Regions from separate parts of the Homo sapiens genome. Here all the other regions are linked to region 3. The links are contacts of gene promoters, found by promoter capture Hi-C in human tissues and cell types (Jung and others, 2019). All regions are on one chromosome and are shown on one strand. Each heading gives the region's core, a stretch centred on a gene start or on the middle of the fragment in contact. The rest is flanking DNA. Distances are from core to core; before and after follow the strand shown.

Region 1 (4,823 bases), core at 1,287-3,786, 50 kb before region 3:
TTAAATTTTCCATAAGGGTTATACTAGTTTATGCTTCCACCAGCAGTGTTTGAGATTATCTTTTTCTTTTCTTTTTTTTTTTTTTTTTTGGAGACAGAGTCTCACTCTGTCGCCCAGGCTAGAGTGCAGTGGCGTGATCTTGGCTCACTGCAACCTCTGCCTCTCGGGTTCACGCCGTTCTCCTGCCTCAGCCTCCCGAGTAGCTGGGACTACAGGCACCTGCTATCACGCCCGGCTCATTTTTTGTATTTTTAGTAGAGACGGGGTTTCATCGTGTTAGCCAGGTTGGTCTCGATCTCCCGACCTCATGATCTGCCCACCTCGGCCTCCCAAAGTGCTGGGATTACAGGCATGAGCCACCGCGCCCGGCTGAGAGTATCTTTTTCTTATAACCTCACAATAGAGTGTTAAGCTTTTTGATCTTTGCCAATCAAAAACATGAGAAATTTTATCTCAGTATAATTTTATTTTGCATTTCTCTCAGTGATGTTGAATATCTTTCCAAAATTTAAAAAAAAATTCATTAAACACTTTATGAATTATGATGTGGCCCTCTAATGGAGAGACCAGGAAGAAAATAGGTATTTCCAAATCATTGTTATATGTGCCACAATAGAAGTATGTATGAGAACAGTGGTTGTGGAGAGAAGCAGAACATTATAGGCTCTTTTTGGAGATAATCCTAGAAGACAAACTTTGATACGGGCACAACATTTTGACATCGTATTTAAAGTTTTGCCAGTCTAGAAATGTGACATGTCATTGGATTCATAATGGGCTCTTGTTTGGGATCTTAGGGATTGGATTCACACCTAATTCTCCTAAGCCTGATACATACTGATCCATAATGAATTTTACCCCCAGTGACAGTAATATTTATATATGCCATAAAGGGCACTGTTTACAATGCCTTACAACAATCTGTGTTAAGAGTTTTCTATTGACCGTTAATATGTTAACTAATTAATTACTACTTTTGAAGTTCCCATGTAATAAAAATGGTAGCATTTTATCTATGTAATTACAAAATGTTAAGCTTAATGTGACAAATACTAAATCTGAATTTTTTAATTTTGCTTTTTTTAAAAATTATTTTCATCCACAGATGCTCATAGTGAAGTATTTCTTTCATAGTATTGGTATACTTCCAGTTGTAGTATTAGCTATTGGTTATAAAAATGTAACTTTAGACCCCAAGTAAAATCATTCTCTCATTTTCCAGGAGTCTCATGAACAGTGTATCCAGTGGATTGTTAAGTTTATTCATGGTCAGCATAGTCCTAAAAGAATTTCTTTTCTTTATGACTGCTTAGCAATGGCAGTTGAGACTGGTCTCCTTCCACCCAGGTACGTTTAATGGGTATGAGCAATCTGAAGAATTTTCTTTTCTATATGTGATTGGAAATTGGTTGAGGTTGTTGTTGTAAAAAGGTAAGAGAATGAAGAAGAAGGTGAGGTTTATCAAGTAATCCTTTATATAATACCTCAGGTTTTAGTTTCTAGGAGTAATAGTCTTTGAATTAGGTAATGCTTGTGGGCTCAAAACCAGATGTTTCTGCCCAGGGGCTGAAATTAATCACTTTAATTAGTTTGTAACCCTTTACTTTTGCTGCACAACCTCAACACCTTATGGCTTAAAACAGTAATACTCAGGTTTTAAAATTATTCATGGTTTTAGTGGTTGACTCGGCTTAGGAGACACTTTTTACTCAAGGTCATAATGATTGTGATCAATGTGGCTAGGGCTGGAGCATGGCAAAAGCTTCCCCACTCAGATATCTGGTGGTTGATTCCTGGCTGTCATCTGGAACCTCAGCTGGGATTATTAGCCAGAACCTCCGCAGGCCCTCACCTTGTGGCCTAGACTTTCTCACCTCATGGTGGAGCCTAACAGCAAGTGTGCAAAAGAGGGCTAGGCAGAAATTGTATCACCTTGTCTTCTTGGAAGTCATACTGCATCCTTTTGGCCATAGTCTTAGGTCTGCCCAGATCTAAGGAGTGAGAACGTAGACTTTCCCCCTACCTCTCCTTGGGAGAAATGTCAGTGTCACATTTCAGAAGAAGATGTGGGATCAAAAATCTTGTTGCCATCCTGTTGGAAAAATCCAGTGTACCACAAGGTGATAGATGGTAAACATCTAACCGAAAGCTTTAGATAGACTTCTTTCTAGTAAAATATAACATAATGAATATTATTTCATTCTTACTTTGTTTTTGATCTTTCATACAAGTAAAAAATGTAAAATACTACACAGATTTATAAGTGTGCTTAGTAATCACTTTTATGAAAGACACTTGTGAGGATAAATATAATACAGTGCACAGACTATGGCTGTATTAGTCTGTCTGATGCTGCTAACAAAGATATACCCGAGACTGGGTAACTTATAAAGGAAAGAGGTTTAATTGACTCACAGTTTGGCATGGCTAGGGAGGCCTCAGGAAACTTAGAATAATGGCAAAAGGCACCTCATCACAGGGTGGTGGGAGAGAGAATGAGTGCCCAGTGAAGGGGGAATCCCCATATAAAACCATTAGATCTTGTGAGAACTAACTCACTATCATGAGAACAGTATTGGGGGAACTGTCCCTCATGATTTAAATGGTTTTTCTCATGACACGTGGGGATTATGGGAACTACAATTCAAGATGAGATTTGTGTGAGTACACAGCCAAACCATATTGGCGGCTATTAGAGAACTTGGAAAATTCTGTCTTGTAACTGGAATGGCTATTTCTTTTTTTATAGGCTGGTTTGTGAATCCCTGATAAACTCTGACACTCTTGAGTGGGAAAGAACACAGCTTTGGGCCTTAACATTTAAACTGGTTCGGAAAATAATTGGGGGAGTGGATTACAAGGTATATTTTTCTTATTATAAAAAGTGATTGCTTTCAGATATGATTGATTTTTCGGTGTGCATGTCTTATTTTCAGGTGAGAGAAATGATGTGGAAGCATTTACAAAATCTGTCTATTTCTTGTGGTATATTTCCTGAAAAGATTTAAAGTTACTCAGTTGTTTCCCTGGCTCCGCTACTCCCCTCCCAACATTCTTATAAATACAGGTAGCTGATACATTTTTATGAAGAGCAGGGAAGTCACAAAGCAGAATCCGTGTTCCTTCATGCTGCAAGTATTATGATCCCTTCAAATGAAAGCACAGAGCAGGGGTGTGTGGAACTGAGAAGGGATGTAGGCATCACTGATGAAGGGAGCAAGACCTGGCTTCACTTCTCTTGAACGTGGGTCTTACCTCAATTAATATCTTCAGCACTTTGGGCTCTTGACCAAAAACAACATACACTTTCTAGTTTTGTCTCATAAAACGGCTTAGGGACTCCATAGCTACAAAAGCCATTCTGCATCTTCAGGAGACTTTTGTTATTGTCCTTTTCCCGGGAATTACCAGTGTCTGACCCTGTGCTTTATTTCTGCATTTTCTCTAATCTGAAATGATTTAACAGGTAATGACCTAACAGATAATTATTAGTTTAAATCATGATTTATCACACAGTTAACTCTAAGAAGCTTTTGCTAATTATTTTCTCTTTACTCAGACTTATGCAATTTTCTTATTTGTATGATACTTCATAATTGTTCTTTTAGGTATATGTTCTGTCTTTTACAAGCTTGGTTACGTAGTTCATAGTCAATAAATAAATGTTGAATGAAATTTCTTCTTTATATATCAGATAATGTAACTGGTATTGGATATGTGGAAATGATTAACAGAATAGCCTTGGATATCCTTGAGAGATTAAGGTATGTGATGGATGAGAAGGGAGAATAGGCCAGTCACAGTGGCTTACACCTATAATCCCAGCACAAAAGGGAGTGAGCAGAAACAGTCCTCTACCAAAAAGTTTGATATTGTTACTCAAGTTTTCAGAGTGCATTGAAGTCTTGTTACAATATATTTCTGTCTATATGTATAATTAAGGTTTTTGACCCTTGTAACAACGTAAACCCTTCTAATGTTATGAGGGCCAAAAAAGCTTGACAAACTGTATAATGACTTTCTTTGCTCATTGTATTTTAAGACAGTCTTTAGAACTCTGTTTTGGAACATGACTCTTCTGTTGGGTTAATGTTAGGGACTTAGATTGTAACTGATTCAGAAAATTTAAAGGTGTGACCTTGAAGGAATATATCACCCTGAAACCTTCGGACGTTTTAGCTAACACAGTAGACACTACTTAATTTTAACCCATGTCTTTTTTCTTATATCAGGGTGTTCGAGATCTCTTAAAAGTGATTTTGGAGAAGATTTTGACAATTCCTAATACAGTGAGCTCTGCTGTTGTACAGCAGCTTCTGGCAGCAAGAGAGGTAATTTAGACATGTCTGAAATTCGTGATCATAACCTCAAAAAAGTCTAGCTTTGTTTAGGTCTGTGCTTTTAATACTTACGGTATTTTGTGAGATGCTCTATTTCTTCTACCAAAAAAAAATCACTTCTATTTTAAAAGATGCTAGTTCCCTTATATTTCAAAAGGACATTTTAAATTTTAATTCATGGTTTTAAATTATGAAAACAATGAAATAGAAATTAAAATAGCTTAAACATTACAAGACCTTAGCATATGGACCACTTAAAAGATCTTTGTACTTTGTAACTAGTATCGCAAGAATTGTTACGTTGGTCTGTTGCACTCCTGTTTAAGTGTGCCAATATTTAAAGCATGTGCAAGGTTATTTACTAACCATGAACAATCCATTCCATTGTTTATTAATCTTTATTTTTAGATATTTTTTACATATAAATGTATTCTTTGCTACAGTTGAAACCCAATAAATCCATTAAATAATATCTCTATATTT
Region 2 (4,894 bases), core at 1-2,500, 34 kb before region 3:
AAGGCAGAGATCATCTTATGTGGGTTCTCCTGCAATTCATTTCTGGAAGTATTCAGAAAAATGCACTAGCTGATTTTCTCCCTGTGATGAAGCTCTTCGACTTGCTATACCCAGAAAAAGAAGTAAGCTTTACTGAGTAACTATTCATAACAACATGATGAGTAAATTATGTCTAATTTATGTTTAAGGATTTTAGTGTGATTTTGTGTATTTCTAAAGTTTATGCTAAATCACAATTGAATGTTAAGTGTAGCAAGCTCTTTCTCTACATTCTAGGTAGGTCTACAGTTTTACAAATCACTAAAGCTGTTTTAATCTATATACATCATTGAATGGCCAGATAACAGTCTTTATTAATAGCTATTTTTTCTTTGACAGTTGAGCCTCAGTATGTCCCCTGGGTATTTTATCATATAAGATATTTGAGTAAAATGTGATGTATTTTGATGATTGCCATTTTCTAGAAGTACTTTATCATGAATTGTTGTTGTTGTTGTTGTTGTTGTTAAGGAGTTTCACTGTTGTCACCCAGGCTGGAGTGCAGTGGCGTGATCTCAGCTCACTGCAACCTCCACCTCCTGGGTTGAAGCAATTCTCCTGCCTCAGCCTCCCGAGTAGCTGAGATTACATGCACATGCCAACATGCCCGACTAATTTTTGTATTTTTGGTAGAGACAGGGTTTCGCCGTGTTGGCCAGGCTGGTCTTGAACTCCTGACCTTAGGTGATCTGCCCAGAAAATTTTAAGATGAAACAAGAGTATTTCTTGATGATGGGTATAACATGATGGGGTTACTGTAACCCCACCATGCACTAGCTGTAACCCCACCATGCACTAGCTGTAACCCCACCATGTTATACCCATCATCAAGAAATACTCTTGTTTCATCTTTCCTCCTTATTTTTTTTGTTAATGTTGGACAATTTTCAAGCAAATCCCAGACATCCATATCATTTTACCCATTAATAGTCAATATGTTTAAATGTAATTATTTAGGTTGCGTATTTCTTAGATTTTTATCTGTTCTTAAAAATTATTATGAGACTTTTAGAAAGTCTTGTTTTTAGTTACATTTGTCACTTTAGTAAGATTTCATGATGATGTGTTTTAATTTTTTAAAAGTAAAAATTAAAAATTTATTTTTATTTGAGAATGCTCTGCGATAGTAGGAAAAGCTTGACCAAGCACCTGTGAATATGTGTTACTTAAAGCAAGTAAAAACATATACCAAATAAAGCATCTTGTAATAATTTCAAAATTTTATGGCTGTTAGACCTTCTGATTTGTATTATTGAATTATCGGGGCTAAAGTAAGACATGATATGCTAAAAAGAGTTATATTAGAAATTGATTACTAAAATACACATAATTATTTAATTCTTCTCTTTCTTCTATTGTGTTATTTTTCAAATTGTTATTTTTCAGTATATCCCAGTTCCTGATATTAACAAACCCCAGTCAACCCATGCCTTTGCAATGACCTGTATTTGGATTCATCTCAATAGAAAAGCTCAAAATGACAACTCCAAGCTACAGATTCCAATACCTCATTCCCTAAGACTTCACCATGAGTAAGTTATTTGTTGCTTGATACTTAATTTTCTTGTTTAATTAATAGCGGATTGTAGACTAATATTGGTCTCGGTGTTTGTGTGAAATTTGGAAATCTCCGCATACCCACTATAGGTAAGGGCAAATACTTGATGTATATGTCATAGCAGGAGAATCTGACCAGTACCTATATCAGGAAACAGCTACAAGGTTAGTCTTGCTTATATGTATAGATTTTTTTTTTTAATTTTTAAGGCTGATCTTCAGTTGTATATGTTATACTTTAAAGTTATTAATATAATGAAAGCATATCAATTTTTATAAATGTAAAAATGTTTCAGAATTTCCCAAGTGCTTGGAACTTCAGCATAAGCTGACTGAGATATCATTCATCTCTGGGCTGCCAGGATTGATTGAGCTGATCTGGCTGGCATGCCCCTTAATATCTCTTCCAAAGTTGTGATGACTCAATGAAGATACCATTCTTAGATAGTATTGTATTGTAGTCAAGGGTGCTAGGAGTAGCCTAACTTCCCACCTAGAACTTCTGAGAAGGACTGCCACTTCTCTTCACAGGAGATGGCAGGATTGTCAGACTTGATACTTCATTTGGTTTTCATTTTATGAGACAGCCCTTAACCACCTTTTCATAGTGGTATCTGTAATGAAGACATTGTTGTGTTTATACAGACAGATAATAAATAGAAACCTGGTTCATAGACTTGTGAGTTATTTCTTCATTCTCTGAAACTTAGCCTAATATGGTGGTCATATATGTAGTGCATACTTAACAGTACCCATTAATTGTTTATTTAAAATTATTTTTCTTCTGAAATGCTACTCAAACTTCTATGTGTATTCCCACTGTACATTTCACACAGAAACTATAATACCTATAGGAACAAAGATAGCATTAATAAATAATTGCATAAAATTGAACTTTTAAAAAAATACAAATTAACATTATGGAAGTTATTTTCATTTTTTCTTTTTAATGGAACGTGAATATTTAGGTTCCTGCAGCAGAGTCTAAGAAATAAAAGTTTACAGATGAATGACTATAAGATTGCTCTATTGTGTAATGCATACTCTACAAATTCAGAATGTTTTACATTACCCATGGGAGCTCTGGTAGAAACTATTTATGGAAATGGAATTATGAGGATACCTCTCCCTGGAACAAACTGTATGGCTTCAGGATCTATTACCCCCTTACCTATGAACCTCCTGGATTCACTGACAGTTCATGCCAAAATGAGGTATGTTCTTTTTATTAATTTGGTTCCATGTCAGGGAATTGATACGAGTATAGTATAAACCTTTATTTCATGATTTTATGTGCGTATTATTTCATAGTCAGGTACATTTGAGAAAAAAAAGTTAGCTTTATTTTATTACAAAAGTAAATATTTTTTATTATAGGAATTCTAGGATAAACAAACCCAAAGAAAGTAATTGTTGTAATCTCTACATGAGAGATAAGCATTATAAAAATTTTTTGCACATTTTTTTTCATTTTTTATAGATAGTTAAGAATGAGGACTAGTGTAGCTAGAGCTTCCAACATTTTTGGAAAGGGCTAGAAATCCAGATTTTTTATTAGTAGTCTTTCAGCTTTTAAGTATTGGCTCAAATTTGAAACAACCACTGTATAGGCCAAAGAGAATTTGTCTGTGGGCCTCCAAGTGGAGCATCAGTCCTGGTAGAGCTATGCTCTTTTTCAAATGGTAACCATTGTGATAGAATTACACATGTGCTTCACTTGCATATATAACAGATTTGAGCAAAGCCCCATTAGAACGTAACATTTGGGTCTTAGCAGTGATTTATTAAAGTAAATCTGTGACAAAAGTTATTTAATTTCCCAAATGTATTTTGATGCATCATTTGAGTGACCAAAATCCCTCAAGCATGCTCTTATGAGTTGAATCCAAAGTTTGTTTTTCCATGAGCAGGGGGATCCGTATGCATATTGAAAGCGCCACAGAAACGGAATGAGTCTCAGATTGTGCAGTGCATCCTTACCAAGTGTCCTGCACAGCTTAAACACATTAAATGAATCAACTTCATTTGAATCATTTAAGTTCAGATTTATACTAAGTTACTTCTAAGTAGAGTAGCCCCTATGTTTATGTCAAAAATATGGATTTTTATTTTCTTCCCTTTTTTTCTCCTCAGCCTTATTCACAGCATTGCAACCAGGGTGATAAAACTTGCTCATGCAAAGTCCAGTGTGGCCTTGGCTCCAGCCCTAGTGGAAACTTACAGTCGTTTATTGGTCTATATGGAAATAGAGTCTTTGGGCATCAAAGGATTTATCAGTAAGACAGGACTTTCTGGTGTTTATAACTATTAACCCATTCATTAACTCTAAAGTTACTTTTCTAGGTCCTGGGGACACAGCAGAGAACAAGTCACCACCATGATGGAGCTTATGGAGGAGGACATTAAATAAATGAAATATACAATATGTCAGATGATACATGTTATAGAGAAAAATAAAGCAAAAAGGAATAGGAAGTGTGAGGGTTGGGGGGTTTGTTGCATTTTTAAGTAAAGTGGTAAGAAAAGGTTAATGTGCTAGGTGCCTGGGATGCAGTGAGCAGGATAGACCTGGTCCCTGTCCTCATGCAAATGGATTCTGCCTGAGGCAGCAATGCTGTCCTCCAGTGCATACGAAGTCTGACTGGAAATAAAGAAGGAATTTTCCTACCTTGCAGAAGATACATTATAATGTCTCATTTATTATATAGTTCTAAAATAATAGATACTTTCTGATATAGAAGTGTTTTTCTGATTCATGGTAATTCCAGCTTTTCACGAATACAGCATAGTCTTAATTTTAACCACAATAACTCTTCTTAGATAACTGATTGTTGAACAAAACTTTCTTGGGGGTAGGAGGAAACAAGGGCAGGTATAATACAATTTTTTGTATTAAAAAGTGAACCTCATACTTCAAAAGGTATGGAACATTAATTGTCTAAAAATAAAAGATATCAGAATTGAGAAGATTAATGTTTTTTCATATCTTGTCTCATTTTATTTTTCCAGATAAACATGATTATCAATTGCCAAATCCCAGGAAAAAAGCAAACTTGATATTATAGTTAGGATCTGAATTTTTCCTTACTGTTAAAGTAGAAAATAAGAAAATATGGAGAATATATATGTGTGTGGGCGTGTGTATTTTCACAATCAAATCTTTATATTTTACTCAATGTGACTTTCTTCAAATATCTTTTCATGCATAGCCTTTAATAATTGGTACCTTAAATTGTCTTTTTCCTCCAGGTCAGCTTTTGCCAACTGTTTTCAAATCACATGCATGGGGGATCTTACA
Region 3 (4,602 bases), core at 92-2,591:
CTCATGACCATGTTTTAATGGGAGGAGGGTGGTAGAAGGAGGACACTTGCTTCCCTTTTGTGAGGTTTTTAAATTATATATTTATTATAACCTGTTCAAGAGTGGGTGAGAACAGTGTGGATTTTAAAAGGAACATTTCTGTGTCAGCAAAATGTCCCTGTGTTTGGGAGAGACTTTTGGAGGATTTCCAGGGGAAGCAAAGTAGTATTTACTGACAGTCCAAATGCAGTTTGGGCCTCTAACCTCTGGCCTCTCTCAATTTGTTTTGCAGTAAAAAGTCAGAGTACACAGCAAGGGTTCCAAATTAAGAGGAAGCAAAACGCTGCCCAGATCCTGAGAAACCTGGAGAAAATCAACCTTAGTAGTTTCAACTCATACATTGTCTTGTTTGATTTTGTTCTTTGTTTTTTATCCTCTTTAAGCACAGATGCGTGTTGAAGTCTAAGGTGTTCTGTCATCACACTCTCTTTACTAGAATAAGTGTGCCCAGGCAGAAAAAAAAGTGTATTCAATGTTGCTGGCATGTGTGGATTCACAGCTCGTGGCTGTAAGGAAATCTGGGGGTTTCATAAATCCATTAAAATCCTTTTAGAGTTGCCAACCCGCAGTAGGATTTTCTTTCTTTTTTTGTTCTTTTTTTCCCCTTCCAAGTGAGGCACATAAAGGATTCTACCTAGTCCATGAATGAACAGTTTCATAGAAACATTAAAACCCTAACATAACATGAATTATTCACAAAGTTGCATGAAACAATAATATTTAGGTTATCCAAATTATAAGAAGCCTGAAGGTTACCACCAAACTATTAAATTTTTCTAGGCATTAATTACATAACTAAACAAATGTATTTCTTAAAATTCTCTCTTCCTCTACATACACACAGTAACATCAAAAACAACAAGAGCAACTAAACCTCAATGAGTAGCTACAATGCAGAAAGAGTCCATTTCAATTCAAAGAAAAATATTTTCTCCTAAAAAATATGAGAAAACATTCTGTAGGTTCAAATGAATTTAGCCTTGGCTGAGATCACGAGCCACAAAAGTAAGTGGATATGTGACTATAATTATACAATGTTGGAAAATGGTGAGAGGACTTTAAAATATGCATTTCCTGGCCAGATTGTATCAGAAAACTGAACTAACTAGACAATAACACCTTACAAATTTTGAAGTCCAAAATTTTCAACTAAATTCCAGGAATTCAAAGAAAGACTTTTTTCCTTACCTGTCCCTTTGAGAAAGGAGCTCCAATAATCCCTATGGTTCTGGACTTGGCGCTCATGCTCTGACACTTCTCTTTGCTGCACTTGAGCTCTCCAGTCAGTCAACCCTCAGTGACAGAGGGCGCATCTTTTTTTTCCATTTATACTTGGGTTGAATAAACAACCTTTATCTAATGAGGACAGCTGGCTCCACCCACTAAACCAAAGAATGACAGTCAACAGTCTTGCAATTTTTCATACATGGAGTAACTATATGGTTACTCCATGTATGAAGTAACTATATGGGGTTACTTCATACATGGAGTAACCTAACTCTGAGTCTAGGTCTCTAATCAAGTGACAATTATTCATGTTCTCACTTCACACCCTTTTAAAAAGCCAGCCAGATGACATTAACCTGACTTCAACAACTGACAAGTTTCACAACTACAGAAGAAGTCCTATTGTTCTGGCTCAGCGAACTCAGGGCAAGGCCCTTTCCTCCTCCAGATCTCTGAAGACGTCCTTGTAGAAGAAGGGCCGGGCTTGGCAAGATCGTCTGTCACATCCCTTCCAGCCCTAAAATCCTGAGTTGAGATTTCACACATGAGGGTAAATGGTTAATCCATGAGACACATTTCATAAACTTTTAGGGTATAATATAATAAAGAGTATATAACTTCCTTTTTTGATGATTACTTTAAAAAATTAGTTACTTGATTGGTAACCCAGAGAGGTTACCATTTTTGAAGTATGGTGTACAGGAAAATAATTGTAGAATCATATCATAATCAAAGTATAGAAATAAAAATAGCTAACATTGAGTTTTTACCATGTGTCCGATGCAGTTCTGTTTCAAAATACCATATTTATATTTATACCAATTTTATGTGAAGTCTCATCATTGGTGCCATTATACTGATGAATAAACTGAAGCTCAGACCCGTTGCCAACATAGGCTGTAGAAGAAAAGTCGGGATTTAGTCTCTGCCATTCTGAATCCACTTAACCGTCGAGCTTATAGTCTAAATGCTGGGAAGGTGTCAACCTCTATGCCCCTGAGCTACCATTTGTCACCATACAAAAGTATGAATTTAAAATAAAGGCACCTTAAAGATCCTTCCGACTTTAAAATTATGTAATTGTAATTTAAAGGGAAAATTCACTTAGTAGAAACTAATTTCTTTTTCCTATTGGTGGGAAAGAACATTTTGGAATTTAAATTCCATGAGGTCAGAGAATTTTGTCTGCTGTATCCCCAGGGCCTAGAAGAGTGTTGGTGTATAATAGGCACTCAATAAATATTTATTGAATGGATAAATGAGGAAACCAAAGTCTCATGGGTCCATTTTGATAGGACTGTTTTCCAAATAGGTTTCCTACCTTTTTCTTGTGGGTTTGCTTGTATATCCTAAATATTTACTTGTGGTATTCCTCATATTGCCTAGATATTAACCTTATAGCATTGACATTGCAAATAACTTTTCCCAACCTGTCAGAAATCTGATAACTTTTTATATGTTATCACTCAAAATCCTCAATTTTAAAATAGACACTTGTATAATTTCCCCCGAATGCTTTGTGCTTTGGAAGTCTTATTAAATTCCTGCCACCCCATCAAATTGTAGGTATGTAGTTTTACATTTTCTTCCATTTGCCTTAGAGCTTATCTTTCTCACTTAGTTCCTGAATCCATCTTTGTATGTTATGTAAATTTTCCAACTCGTTTTTCCTCTATCATTCATGCATCAGTTTCCTCAACAACACCCATTGAATAGTCATTCATTTTGCAATTGATTGGAGTGCTGTCTGTCACTAAACTCTTTCTTCTGTTCCATTGACTTATTTACCTATGGCTGCACCAGATCCATCAGGTTTTATCAATACAGTTTTGCGGTACATCTTATCATTGTTTAGGCAAGAGTAACTGTTTTGCTCTTCTTTTTCAAAATTGATTTACCTTTTATGGGTCTCTATTCTCCTATAGTTGGAATAACCTAATTCCTTAAAAGTATTTGCTAGAATTTTTACTAGATTTATAAATCAATCCATGGAGATTTGCTAACTTTCAAATTTGATTGCTAGAATTTTTTCTTTGAAAAATTCACATCCTGAAAGTTCTTTGTATGCCAAGCTGAGATTGCCTTCCTGTCATATGAACCATTGGTCACCACCCTTTAATCCAAGTAAAGCACATTATCTCTTGGCTGTCATGTCTTTCTTGGATTTCTATTGTTTAGGCTGAATATTCCCAAATACCTCACTAATTTCTTGTGTTACATAGTTGCCACTTTCCTTCAGGTCACCAACTTGGTCGCTGTCTTCAAAACATCTCGCTTCCCTCTGCCTTTCCTAAATAGGGCATCCAGAACAAAATGCACATATCCAAATACAGGTGGAGTTATCTGGTCCATCAGACACAAATTTGATAACATTTGACTTTTCCAAGTCACTGATAAAAATGTTGAATAAGGCAGCACTTTTACAAACACTCTGTGACATTCCACTGGAAACCTTAACCCAGATTGGCATAGCCCCATTAATTAATCATCAGTTGAGATACAACTGATTACTAATTTCCAACTCAACCACTCCATCCTGTTCACAAGGACATCGTAAGGAAATTTATCCGGTGTCTCAATAAAATCTCATCACACTTTACTACCTTTTCTTCTGCCAATCTGACTTCCCTGTCAAAGTTGATGGGCTGACCTTGACAGGTCCAGTTCTTGGTGAACTCATGCTGACTTCTAGTGATTGCTGCTTCCTTTTTATTATTAACACAAGCTATTTTTTCAGTCTCCAAAGCTGTCATCTCAAGACTGCTAGAGGAAGAAGATAAGGGGTGTCTCACCTATATCACTCTATCAAAGATACACTTTCTTCAGCTCAATTCTTTCATTTATCTCAGGGTTATGTACATTGAGGTTTTAAAAGCCCTTCTAACACTGCAAGTCTCTTAACCAAATGTTGAAAGAAAAATCCTATCTGGCATTTTCCTGGGAATGAGACCACATCTTATTTGACCCTAATCCAAAGCTACTGGAATGAGATCTGACACATAACAGGCCCTTGTATTAGTTTCCTATGGCTGCTGTTACAAAGTACTTGTACCACAAACTGGGTGCTTATAAAAAATAAAAAATAAAAAATAAAAATAAAATAAAATACAATTTTTTTATCCATAGTTTAGAGGATAGAAGTCTGAAATCCAGGTGTCGGCAGAGCCATGCTCCCTCTGAGACCTGCAGGGAATCCTTCCTACCTCTTCCTAGCTGCTGGAGGTTTTCTGGCAATCTTTGGCATTTCTCGGCTCATTAGGTGCATCACTCCAATCCTCCATCTTCACTTGGCACGCTCCCTGTGTCTCTGTGTTTTCACATGGCTGTCTTCTTACA

Evidence for each region. The method cuts DNA at HindIII sites, captures the fragments that hold promoters and counts their contacts. A contact is called where the count stands out against the background at its distance.
Region 1: a fragment that was not itself captured here is called in contact with the fragment with the promoter of ARG1 in region 3 in 4 of the 25 tissues and cell types used here (H1 embryonic stem cells, dorsolateral prefrontal cortex, hippocampus and 1 more).
Region 2: a fragment that was not itself captured here is called in contact with the fragment with the promoter of ARG1 in region 3 in 1 of the 25 tissues and cell types used here (hippocampus).

The regions. Positions count from the first base shown.
Region 1 is chr6:131,621,389-131,626,211 of GRCh38, reverse strand. MED23 (mediator complex subunit 23) reads left to right here. Exons shown (of 29, transcript NM_004830.4): 4 at 1,223-1,347; 5 at 2,750-2,861; 6 at 4,233-4,331. Among named protein-coding and RNA genes, the nearest start is that of MED23, 4.4 kb to the left of the region's middle. The HindIII fragment of the contact is 5,524 bases long and covers 1-4,823 here.
Region 2 is chr6:131,603,156-131,608,049 of GRCh38, reverse strand. MED23 (mediator complex subunit 23) reads left to right here. Exons shown (of 29, transcript NM_004830.4): 12 at 1-122; 13 at 1,426-1,571; 14 at 2,565-2,810; 15 at 3,730-3,872; 16 at 4,846-4,894. Among named protein-coding and RNA genes, the nearest start is that of MED23, 23 kb to the left of the region's middle. The HindIII fragment of the contact is 4,751 bases long and covers 1-3,625 here.
Region 3 is chr6:131,569,965-131,574,566 of GRCh38, reverse strand. ARG1 (arginase 1) reads right to left here and starts at 1,341. Exons shown (of 8, transcript NM_000045.4): 1 at 1,228-1,341. The coding sequence starts at 1,284. It also overlaps a transcript of MED23 not described here. RefSeq lists an enhancer at 1,374-1,875. The HindIII fragment of the contact is 11,485 bases long and covers 1-4,602 here.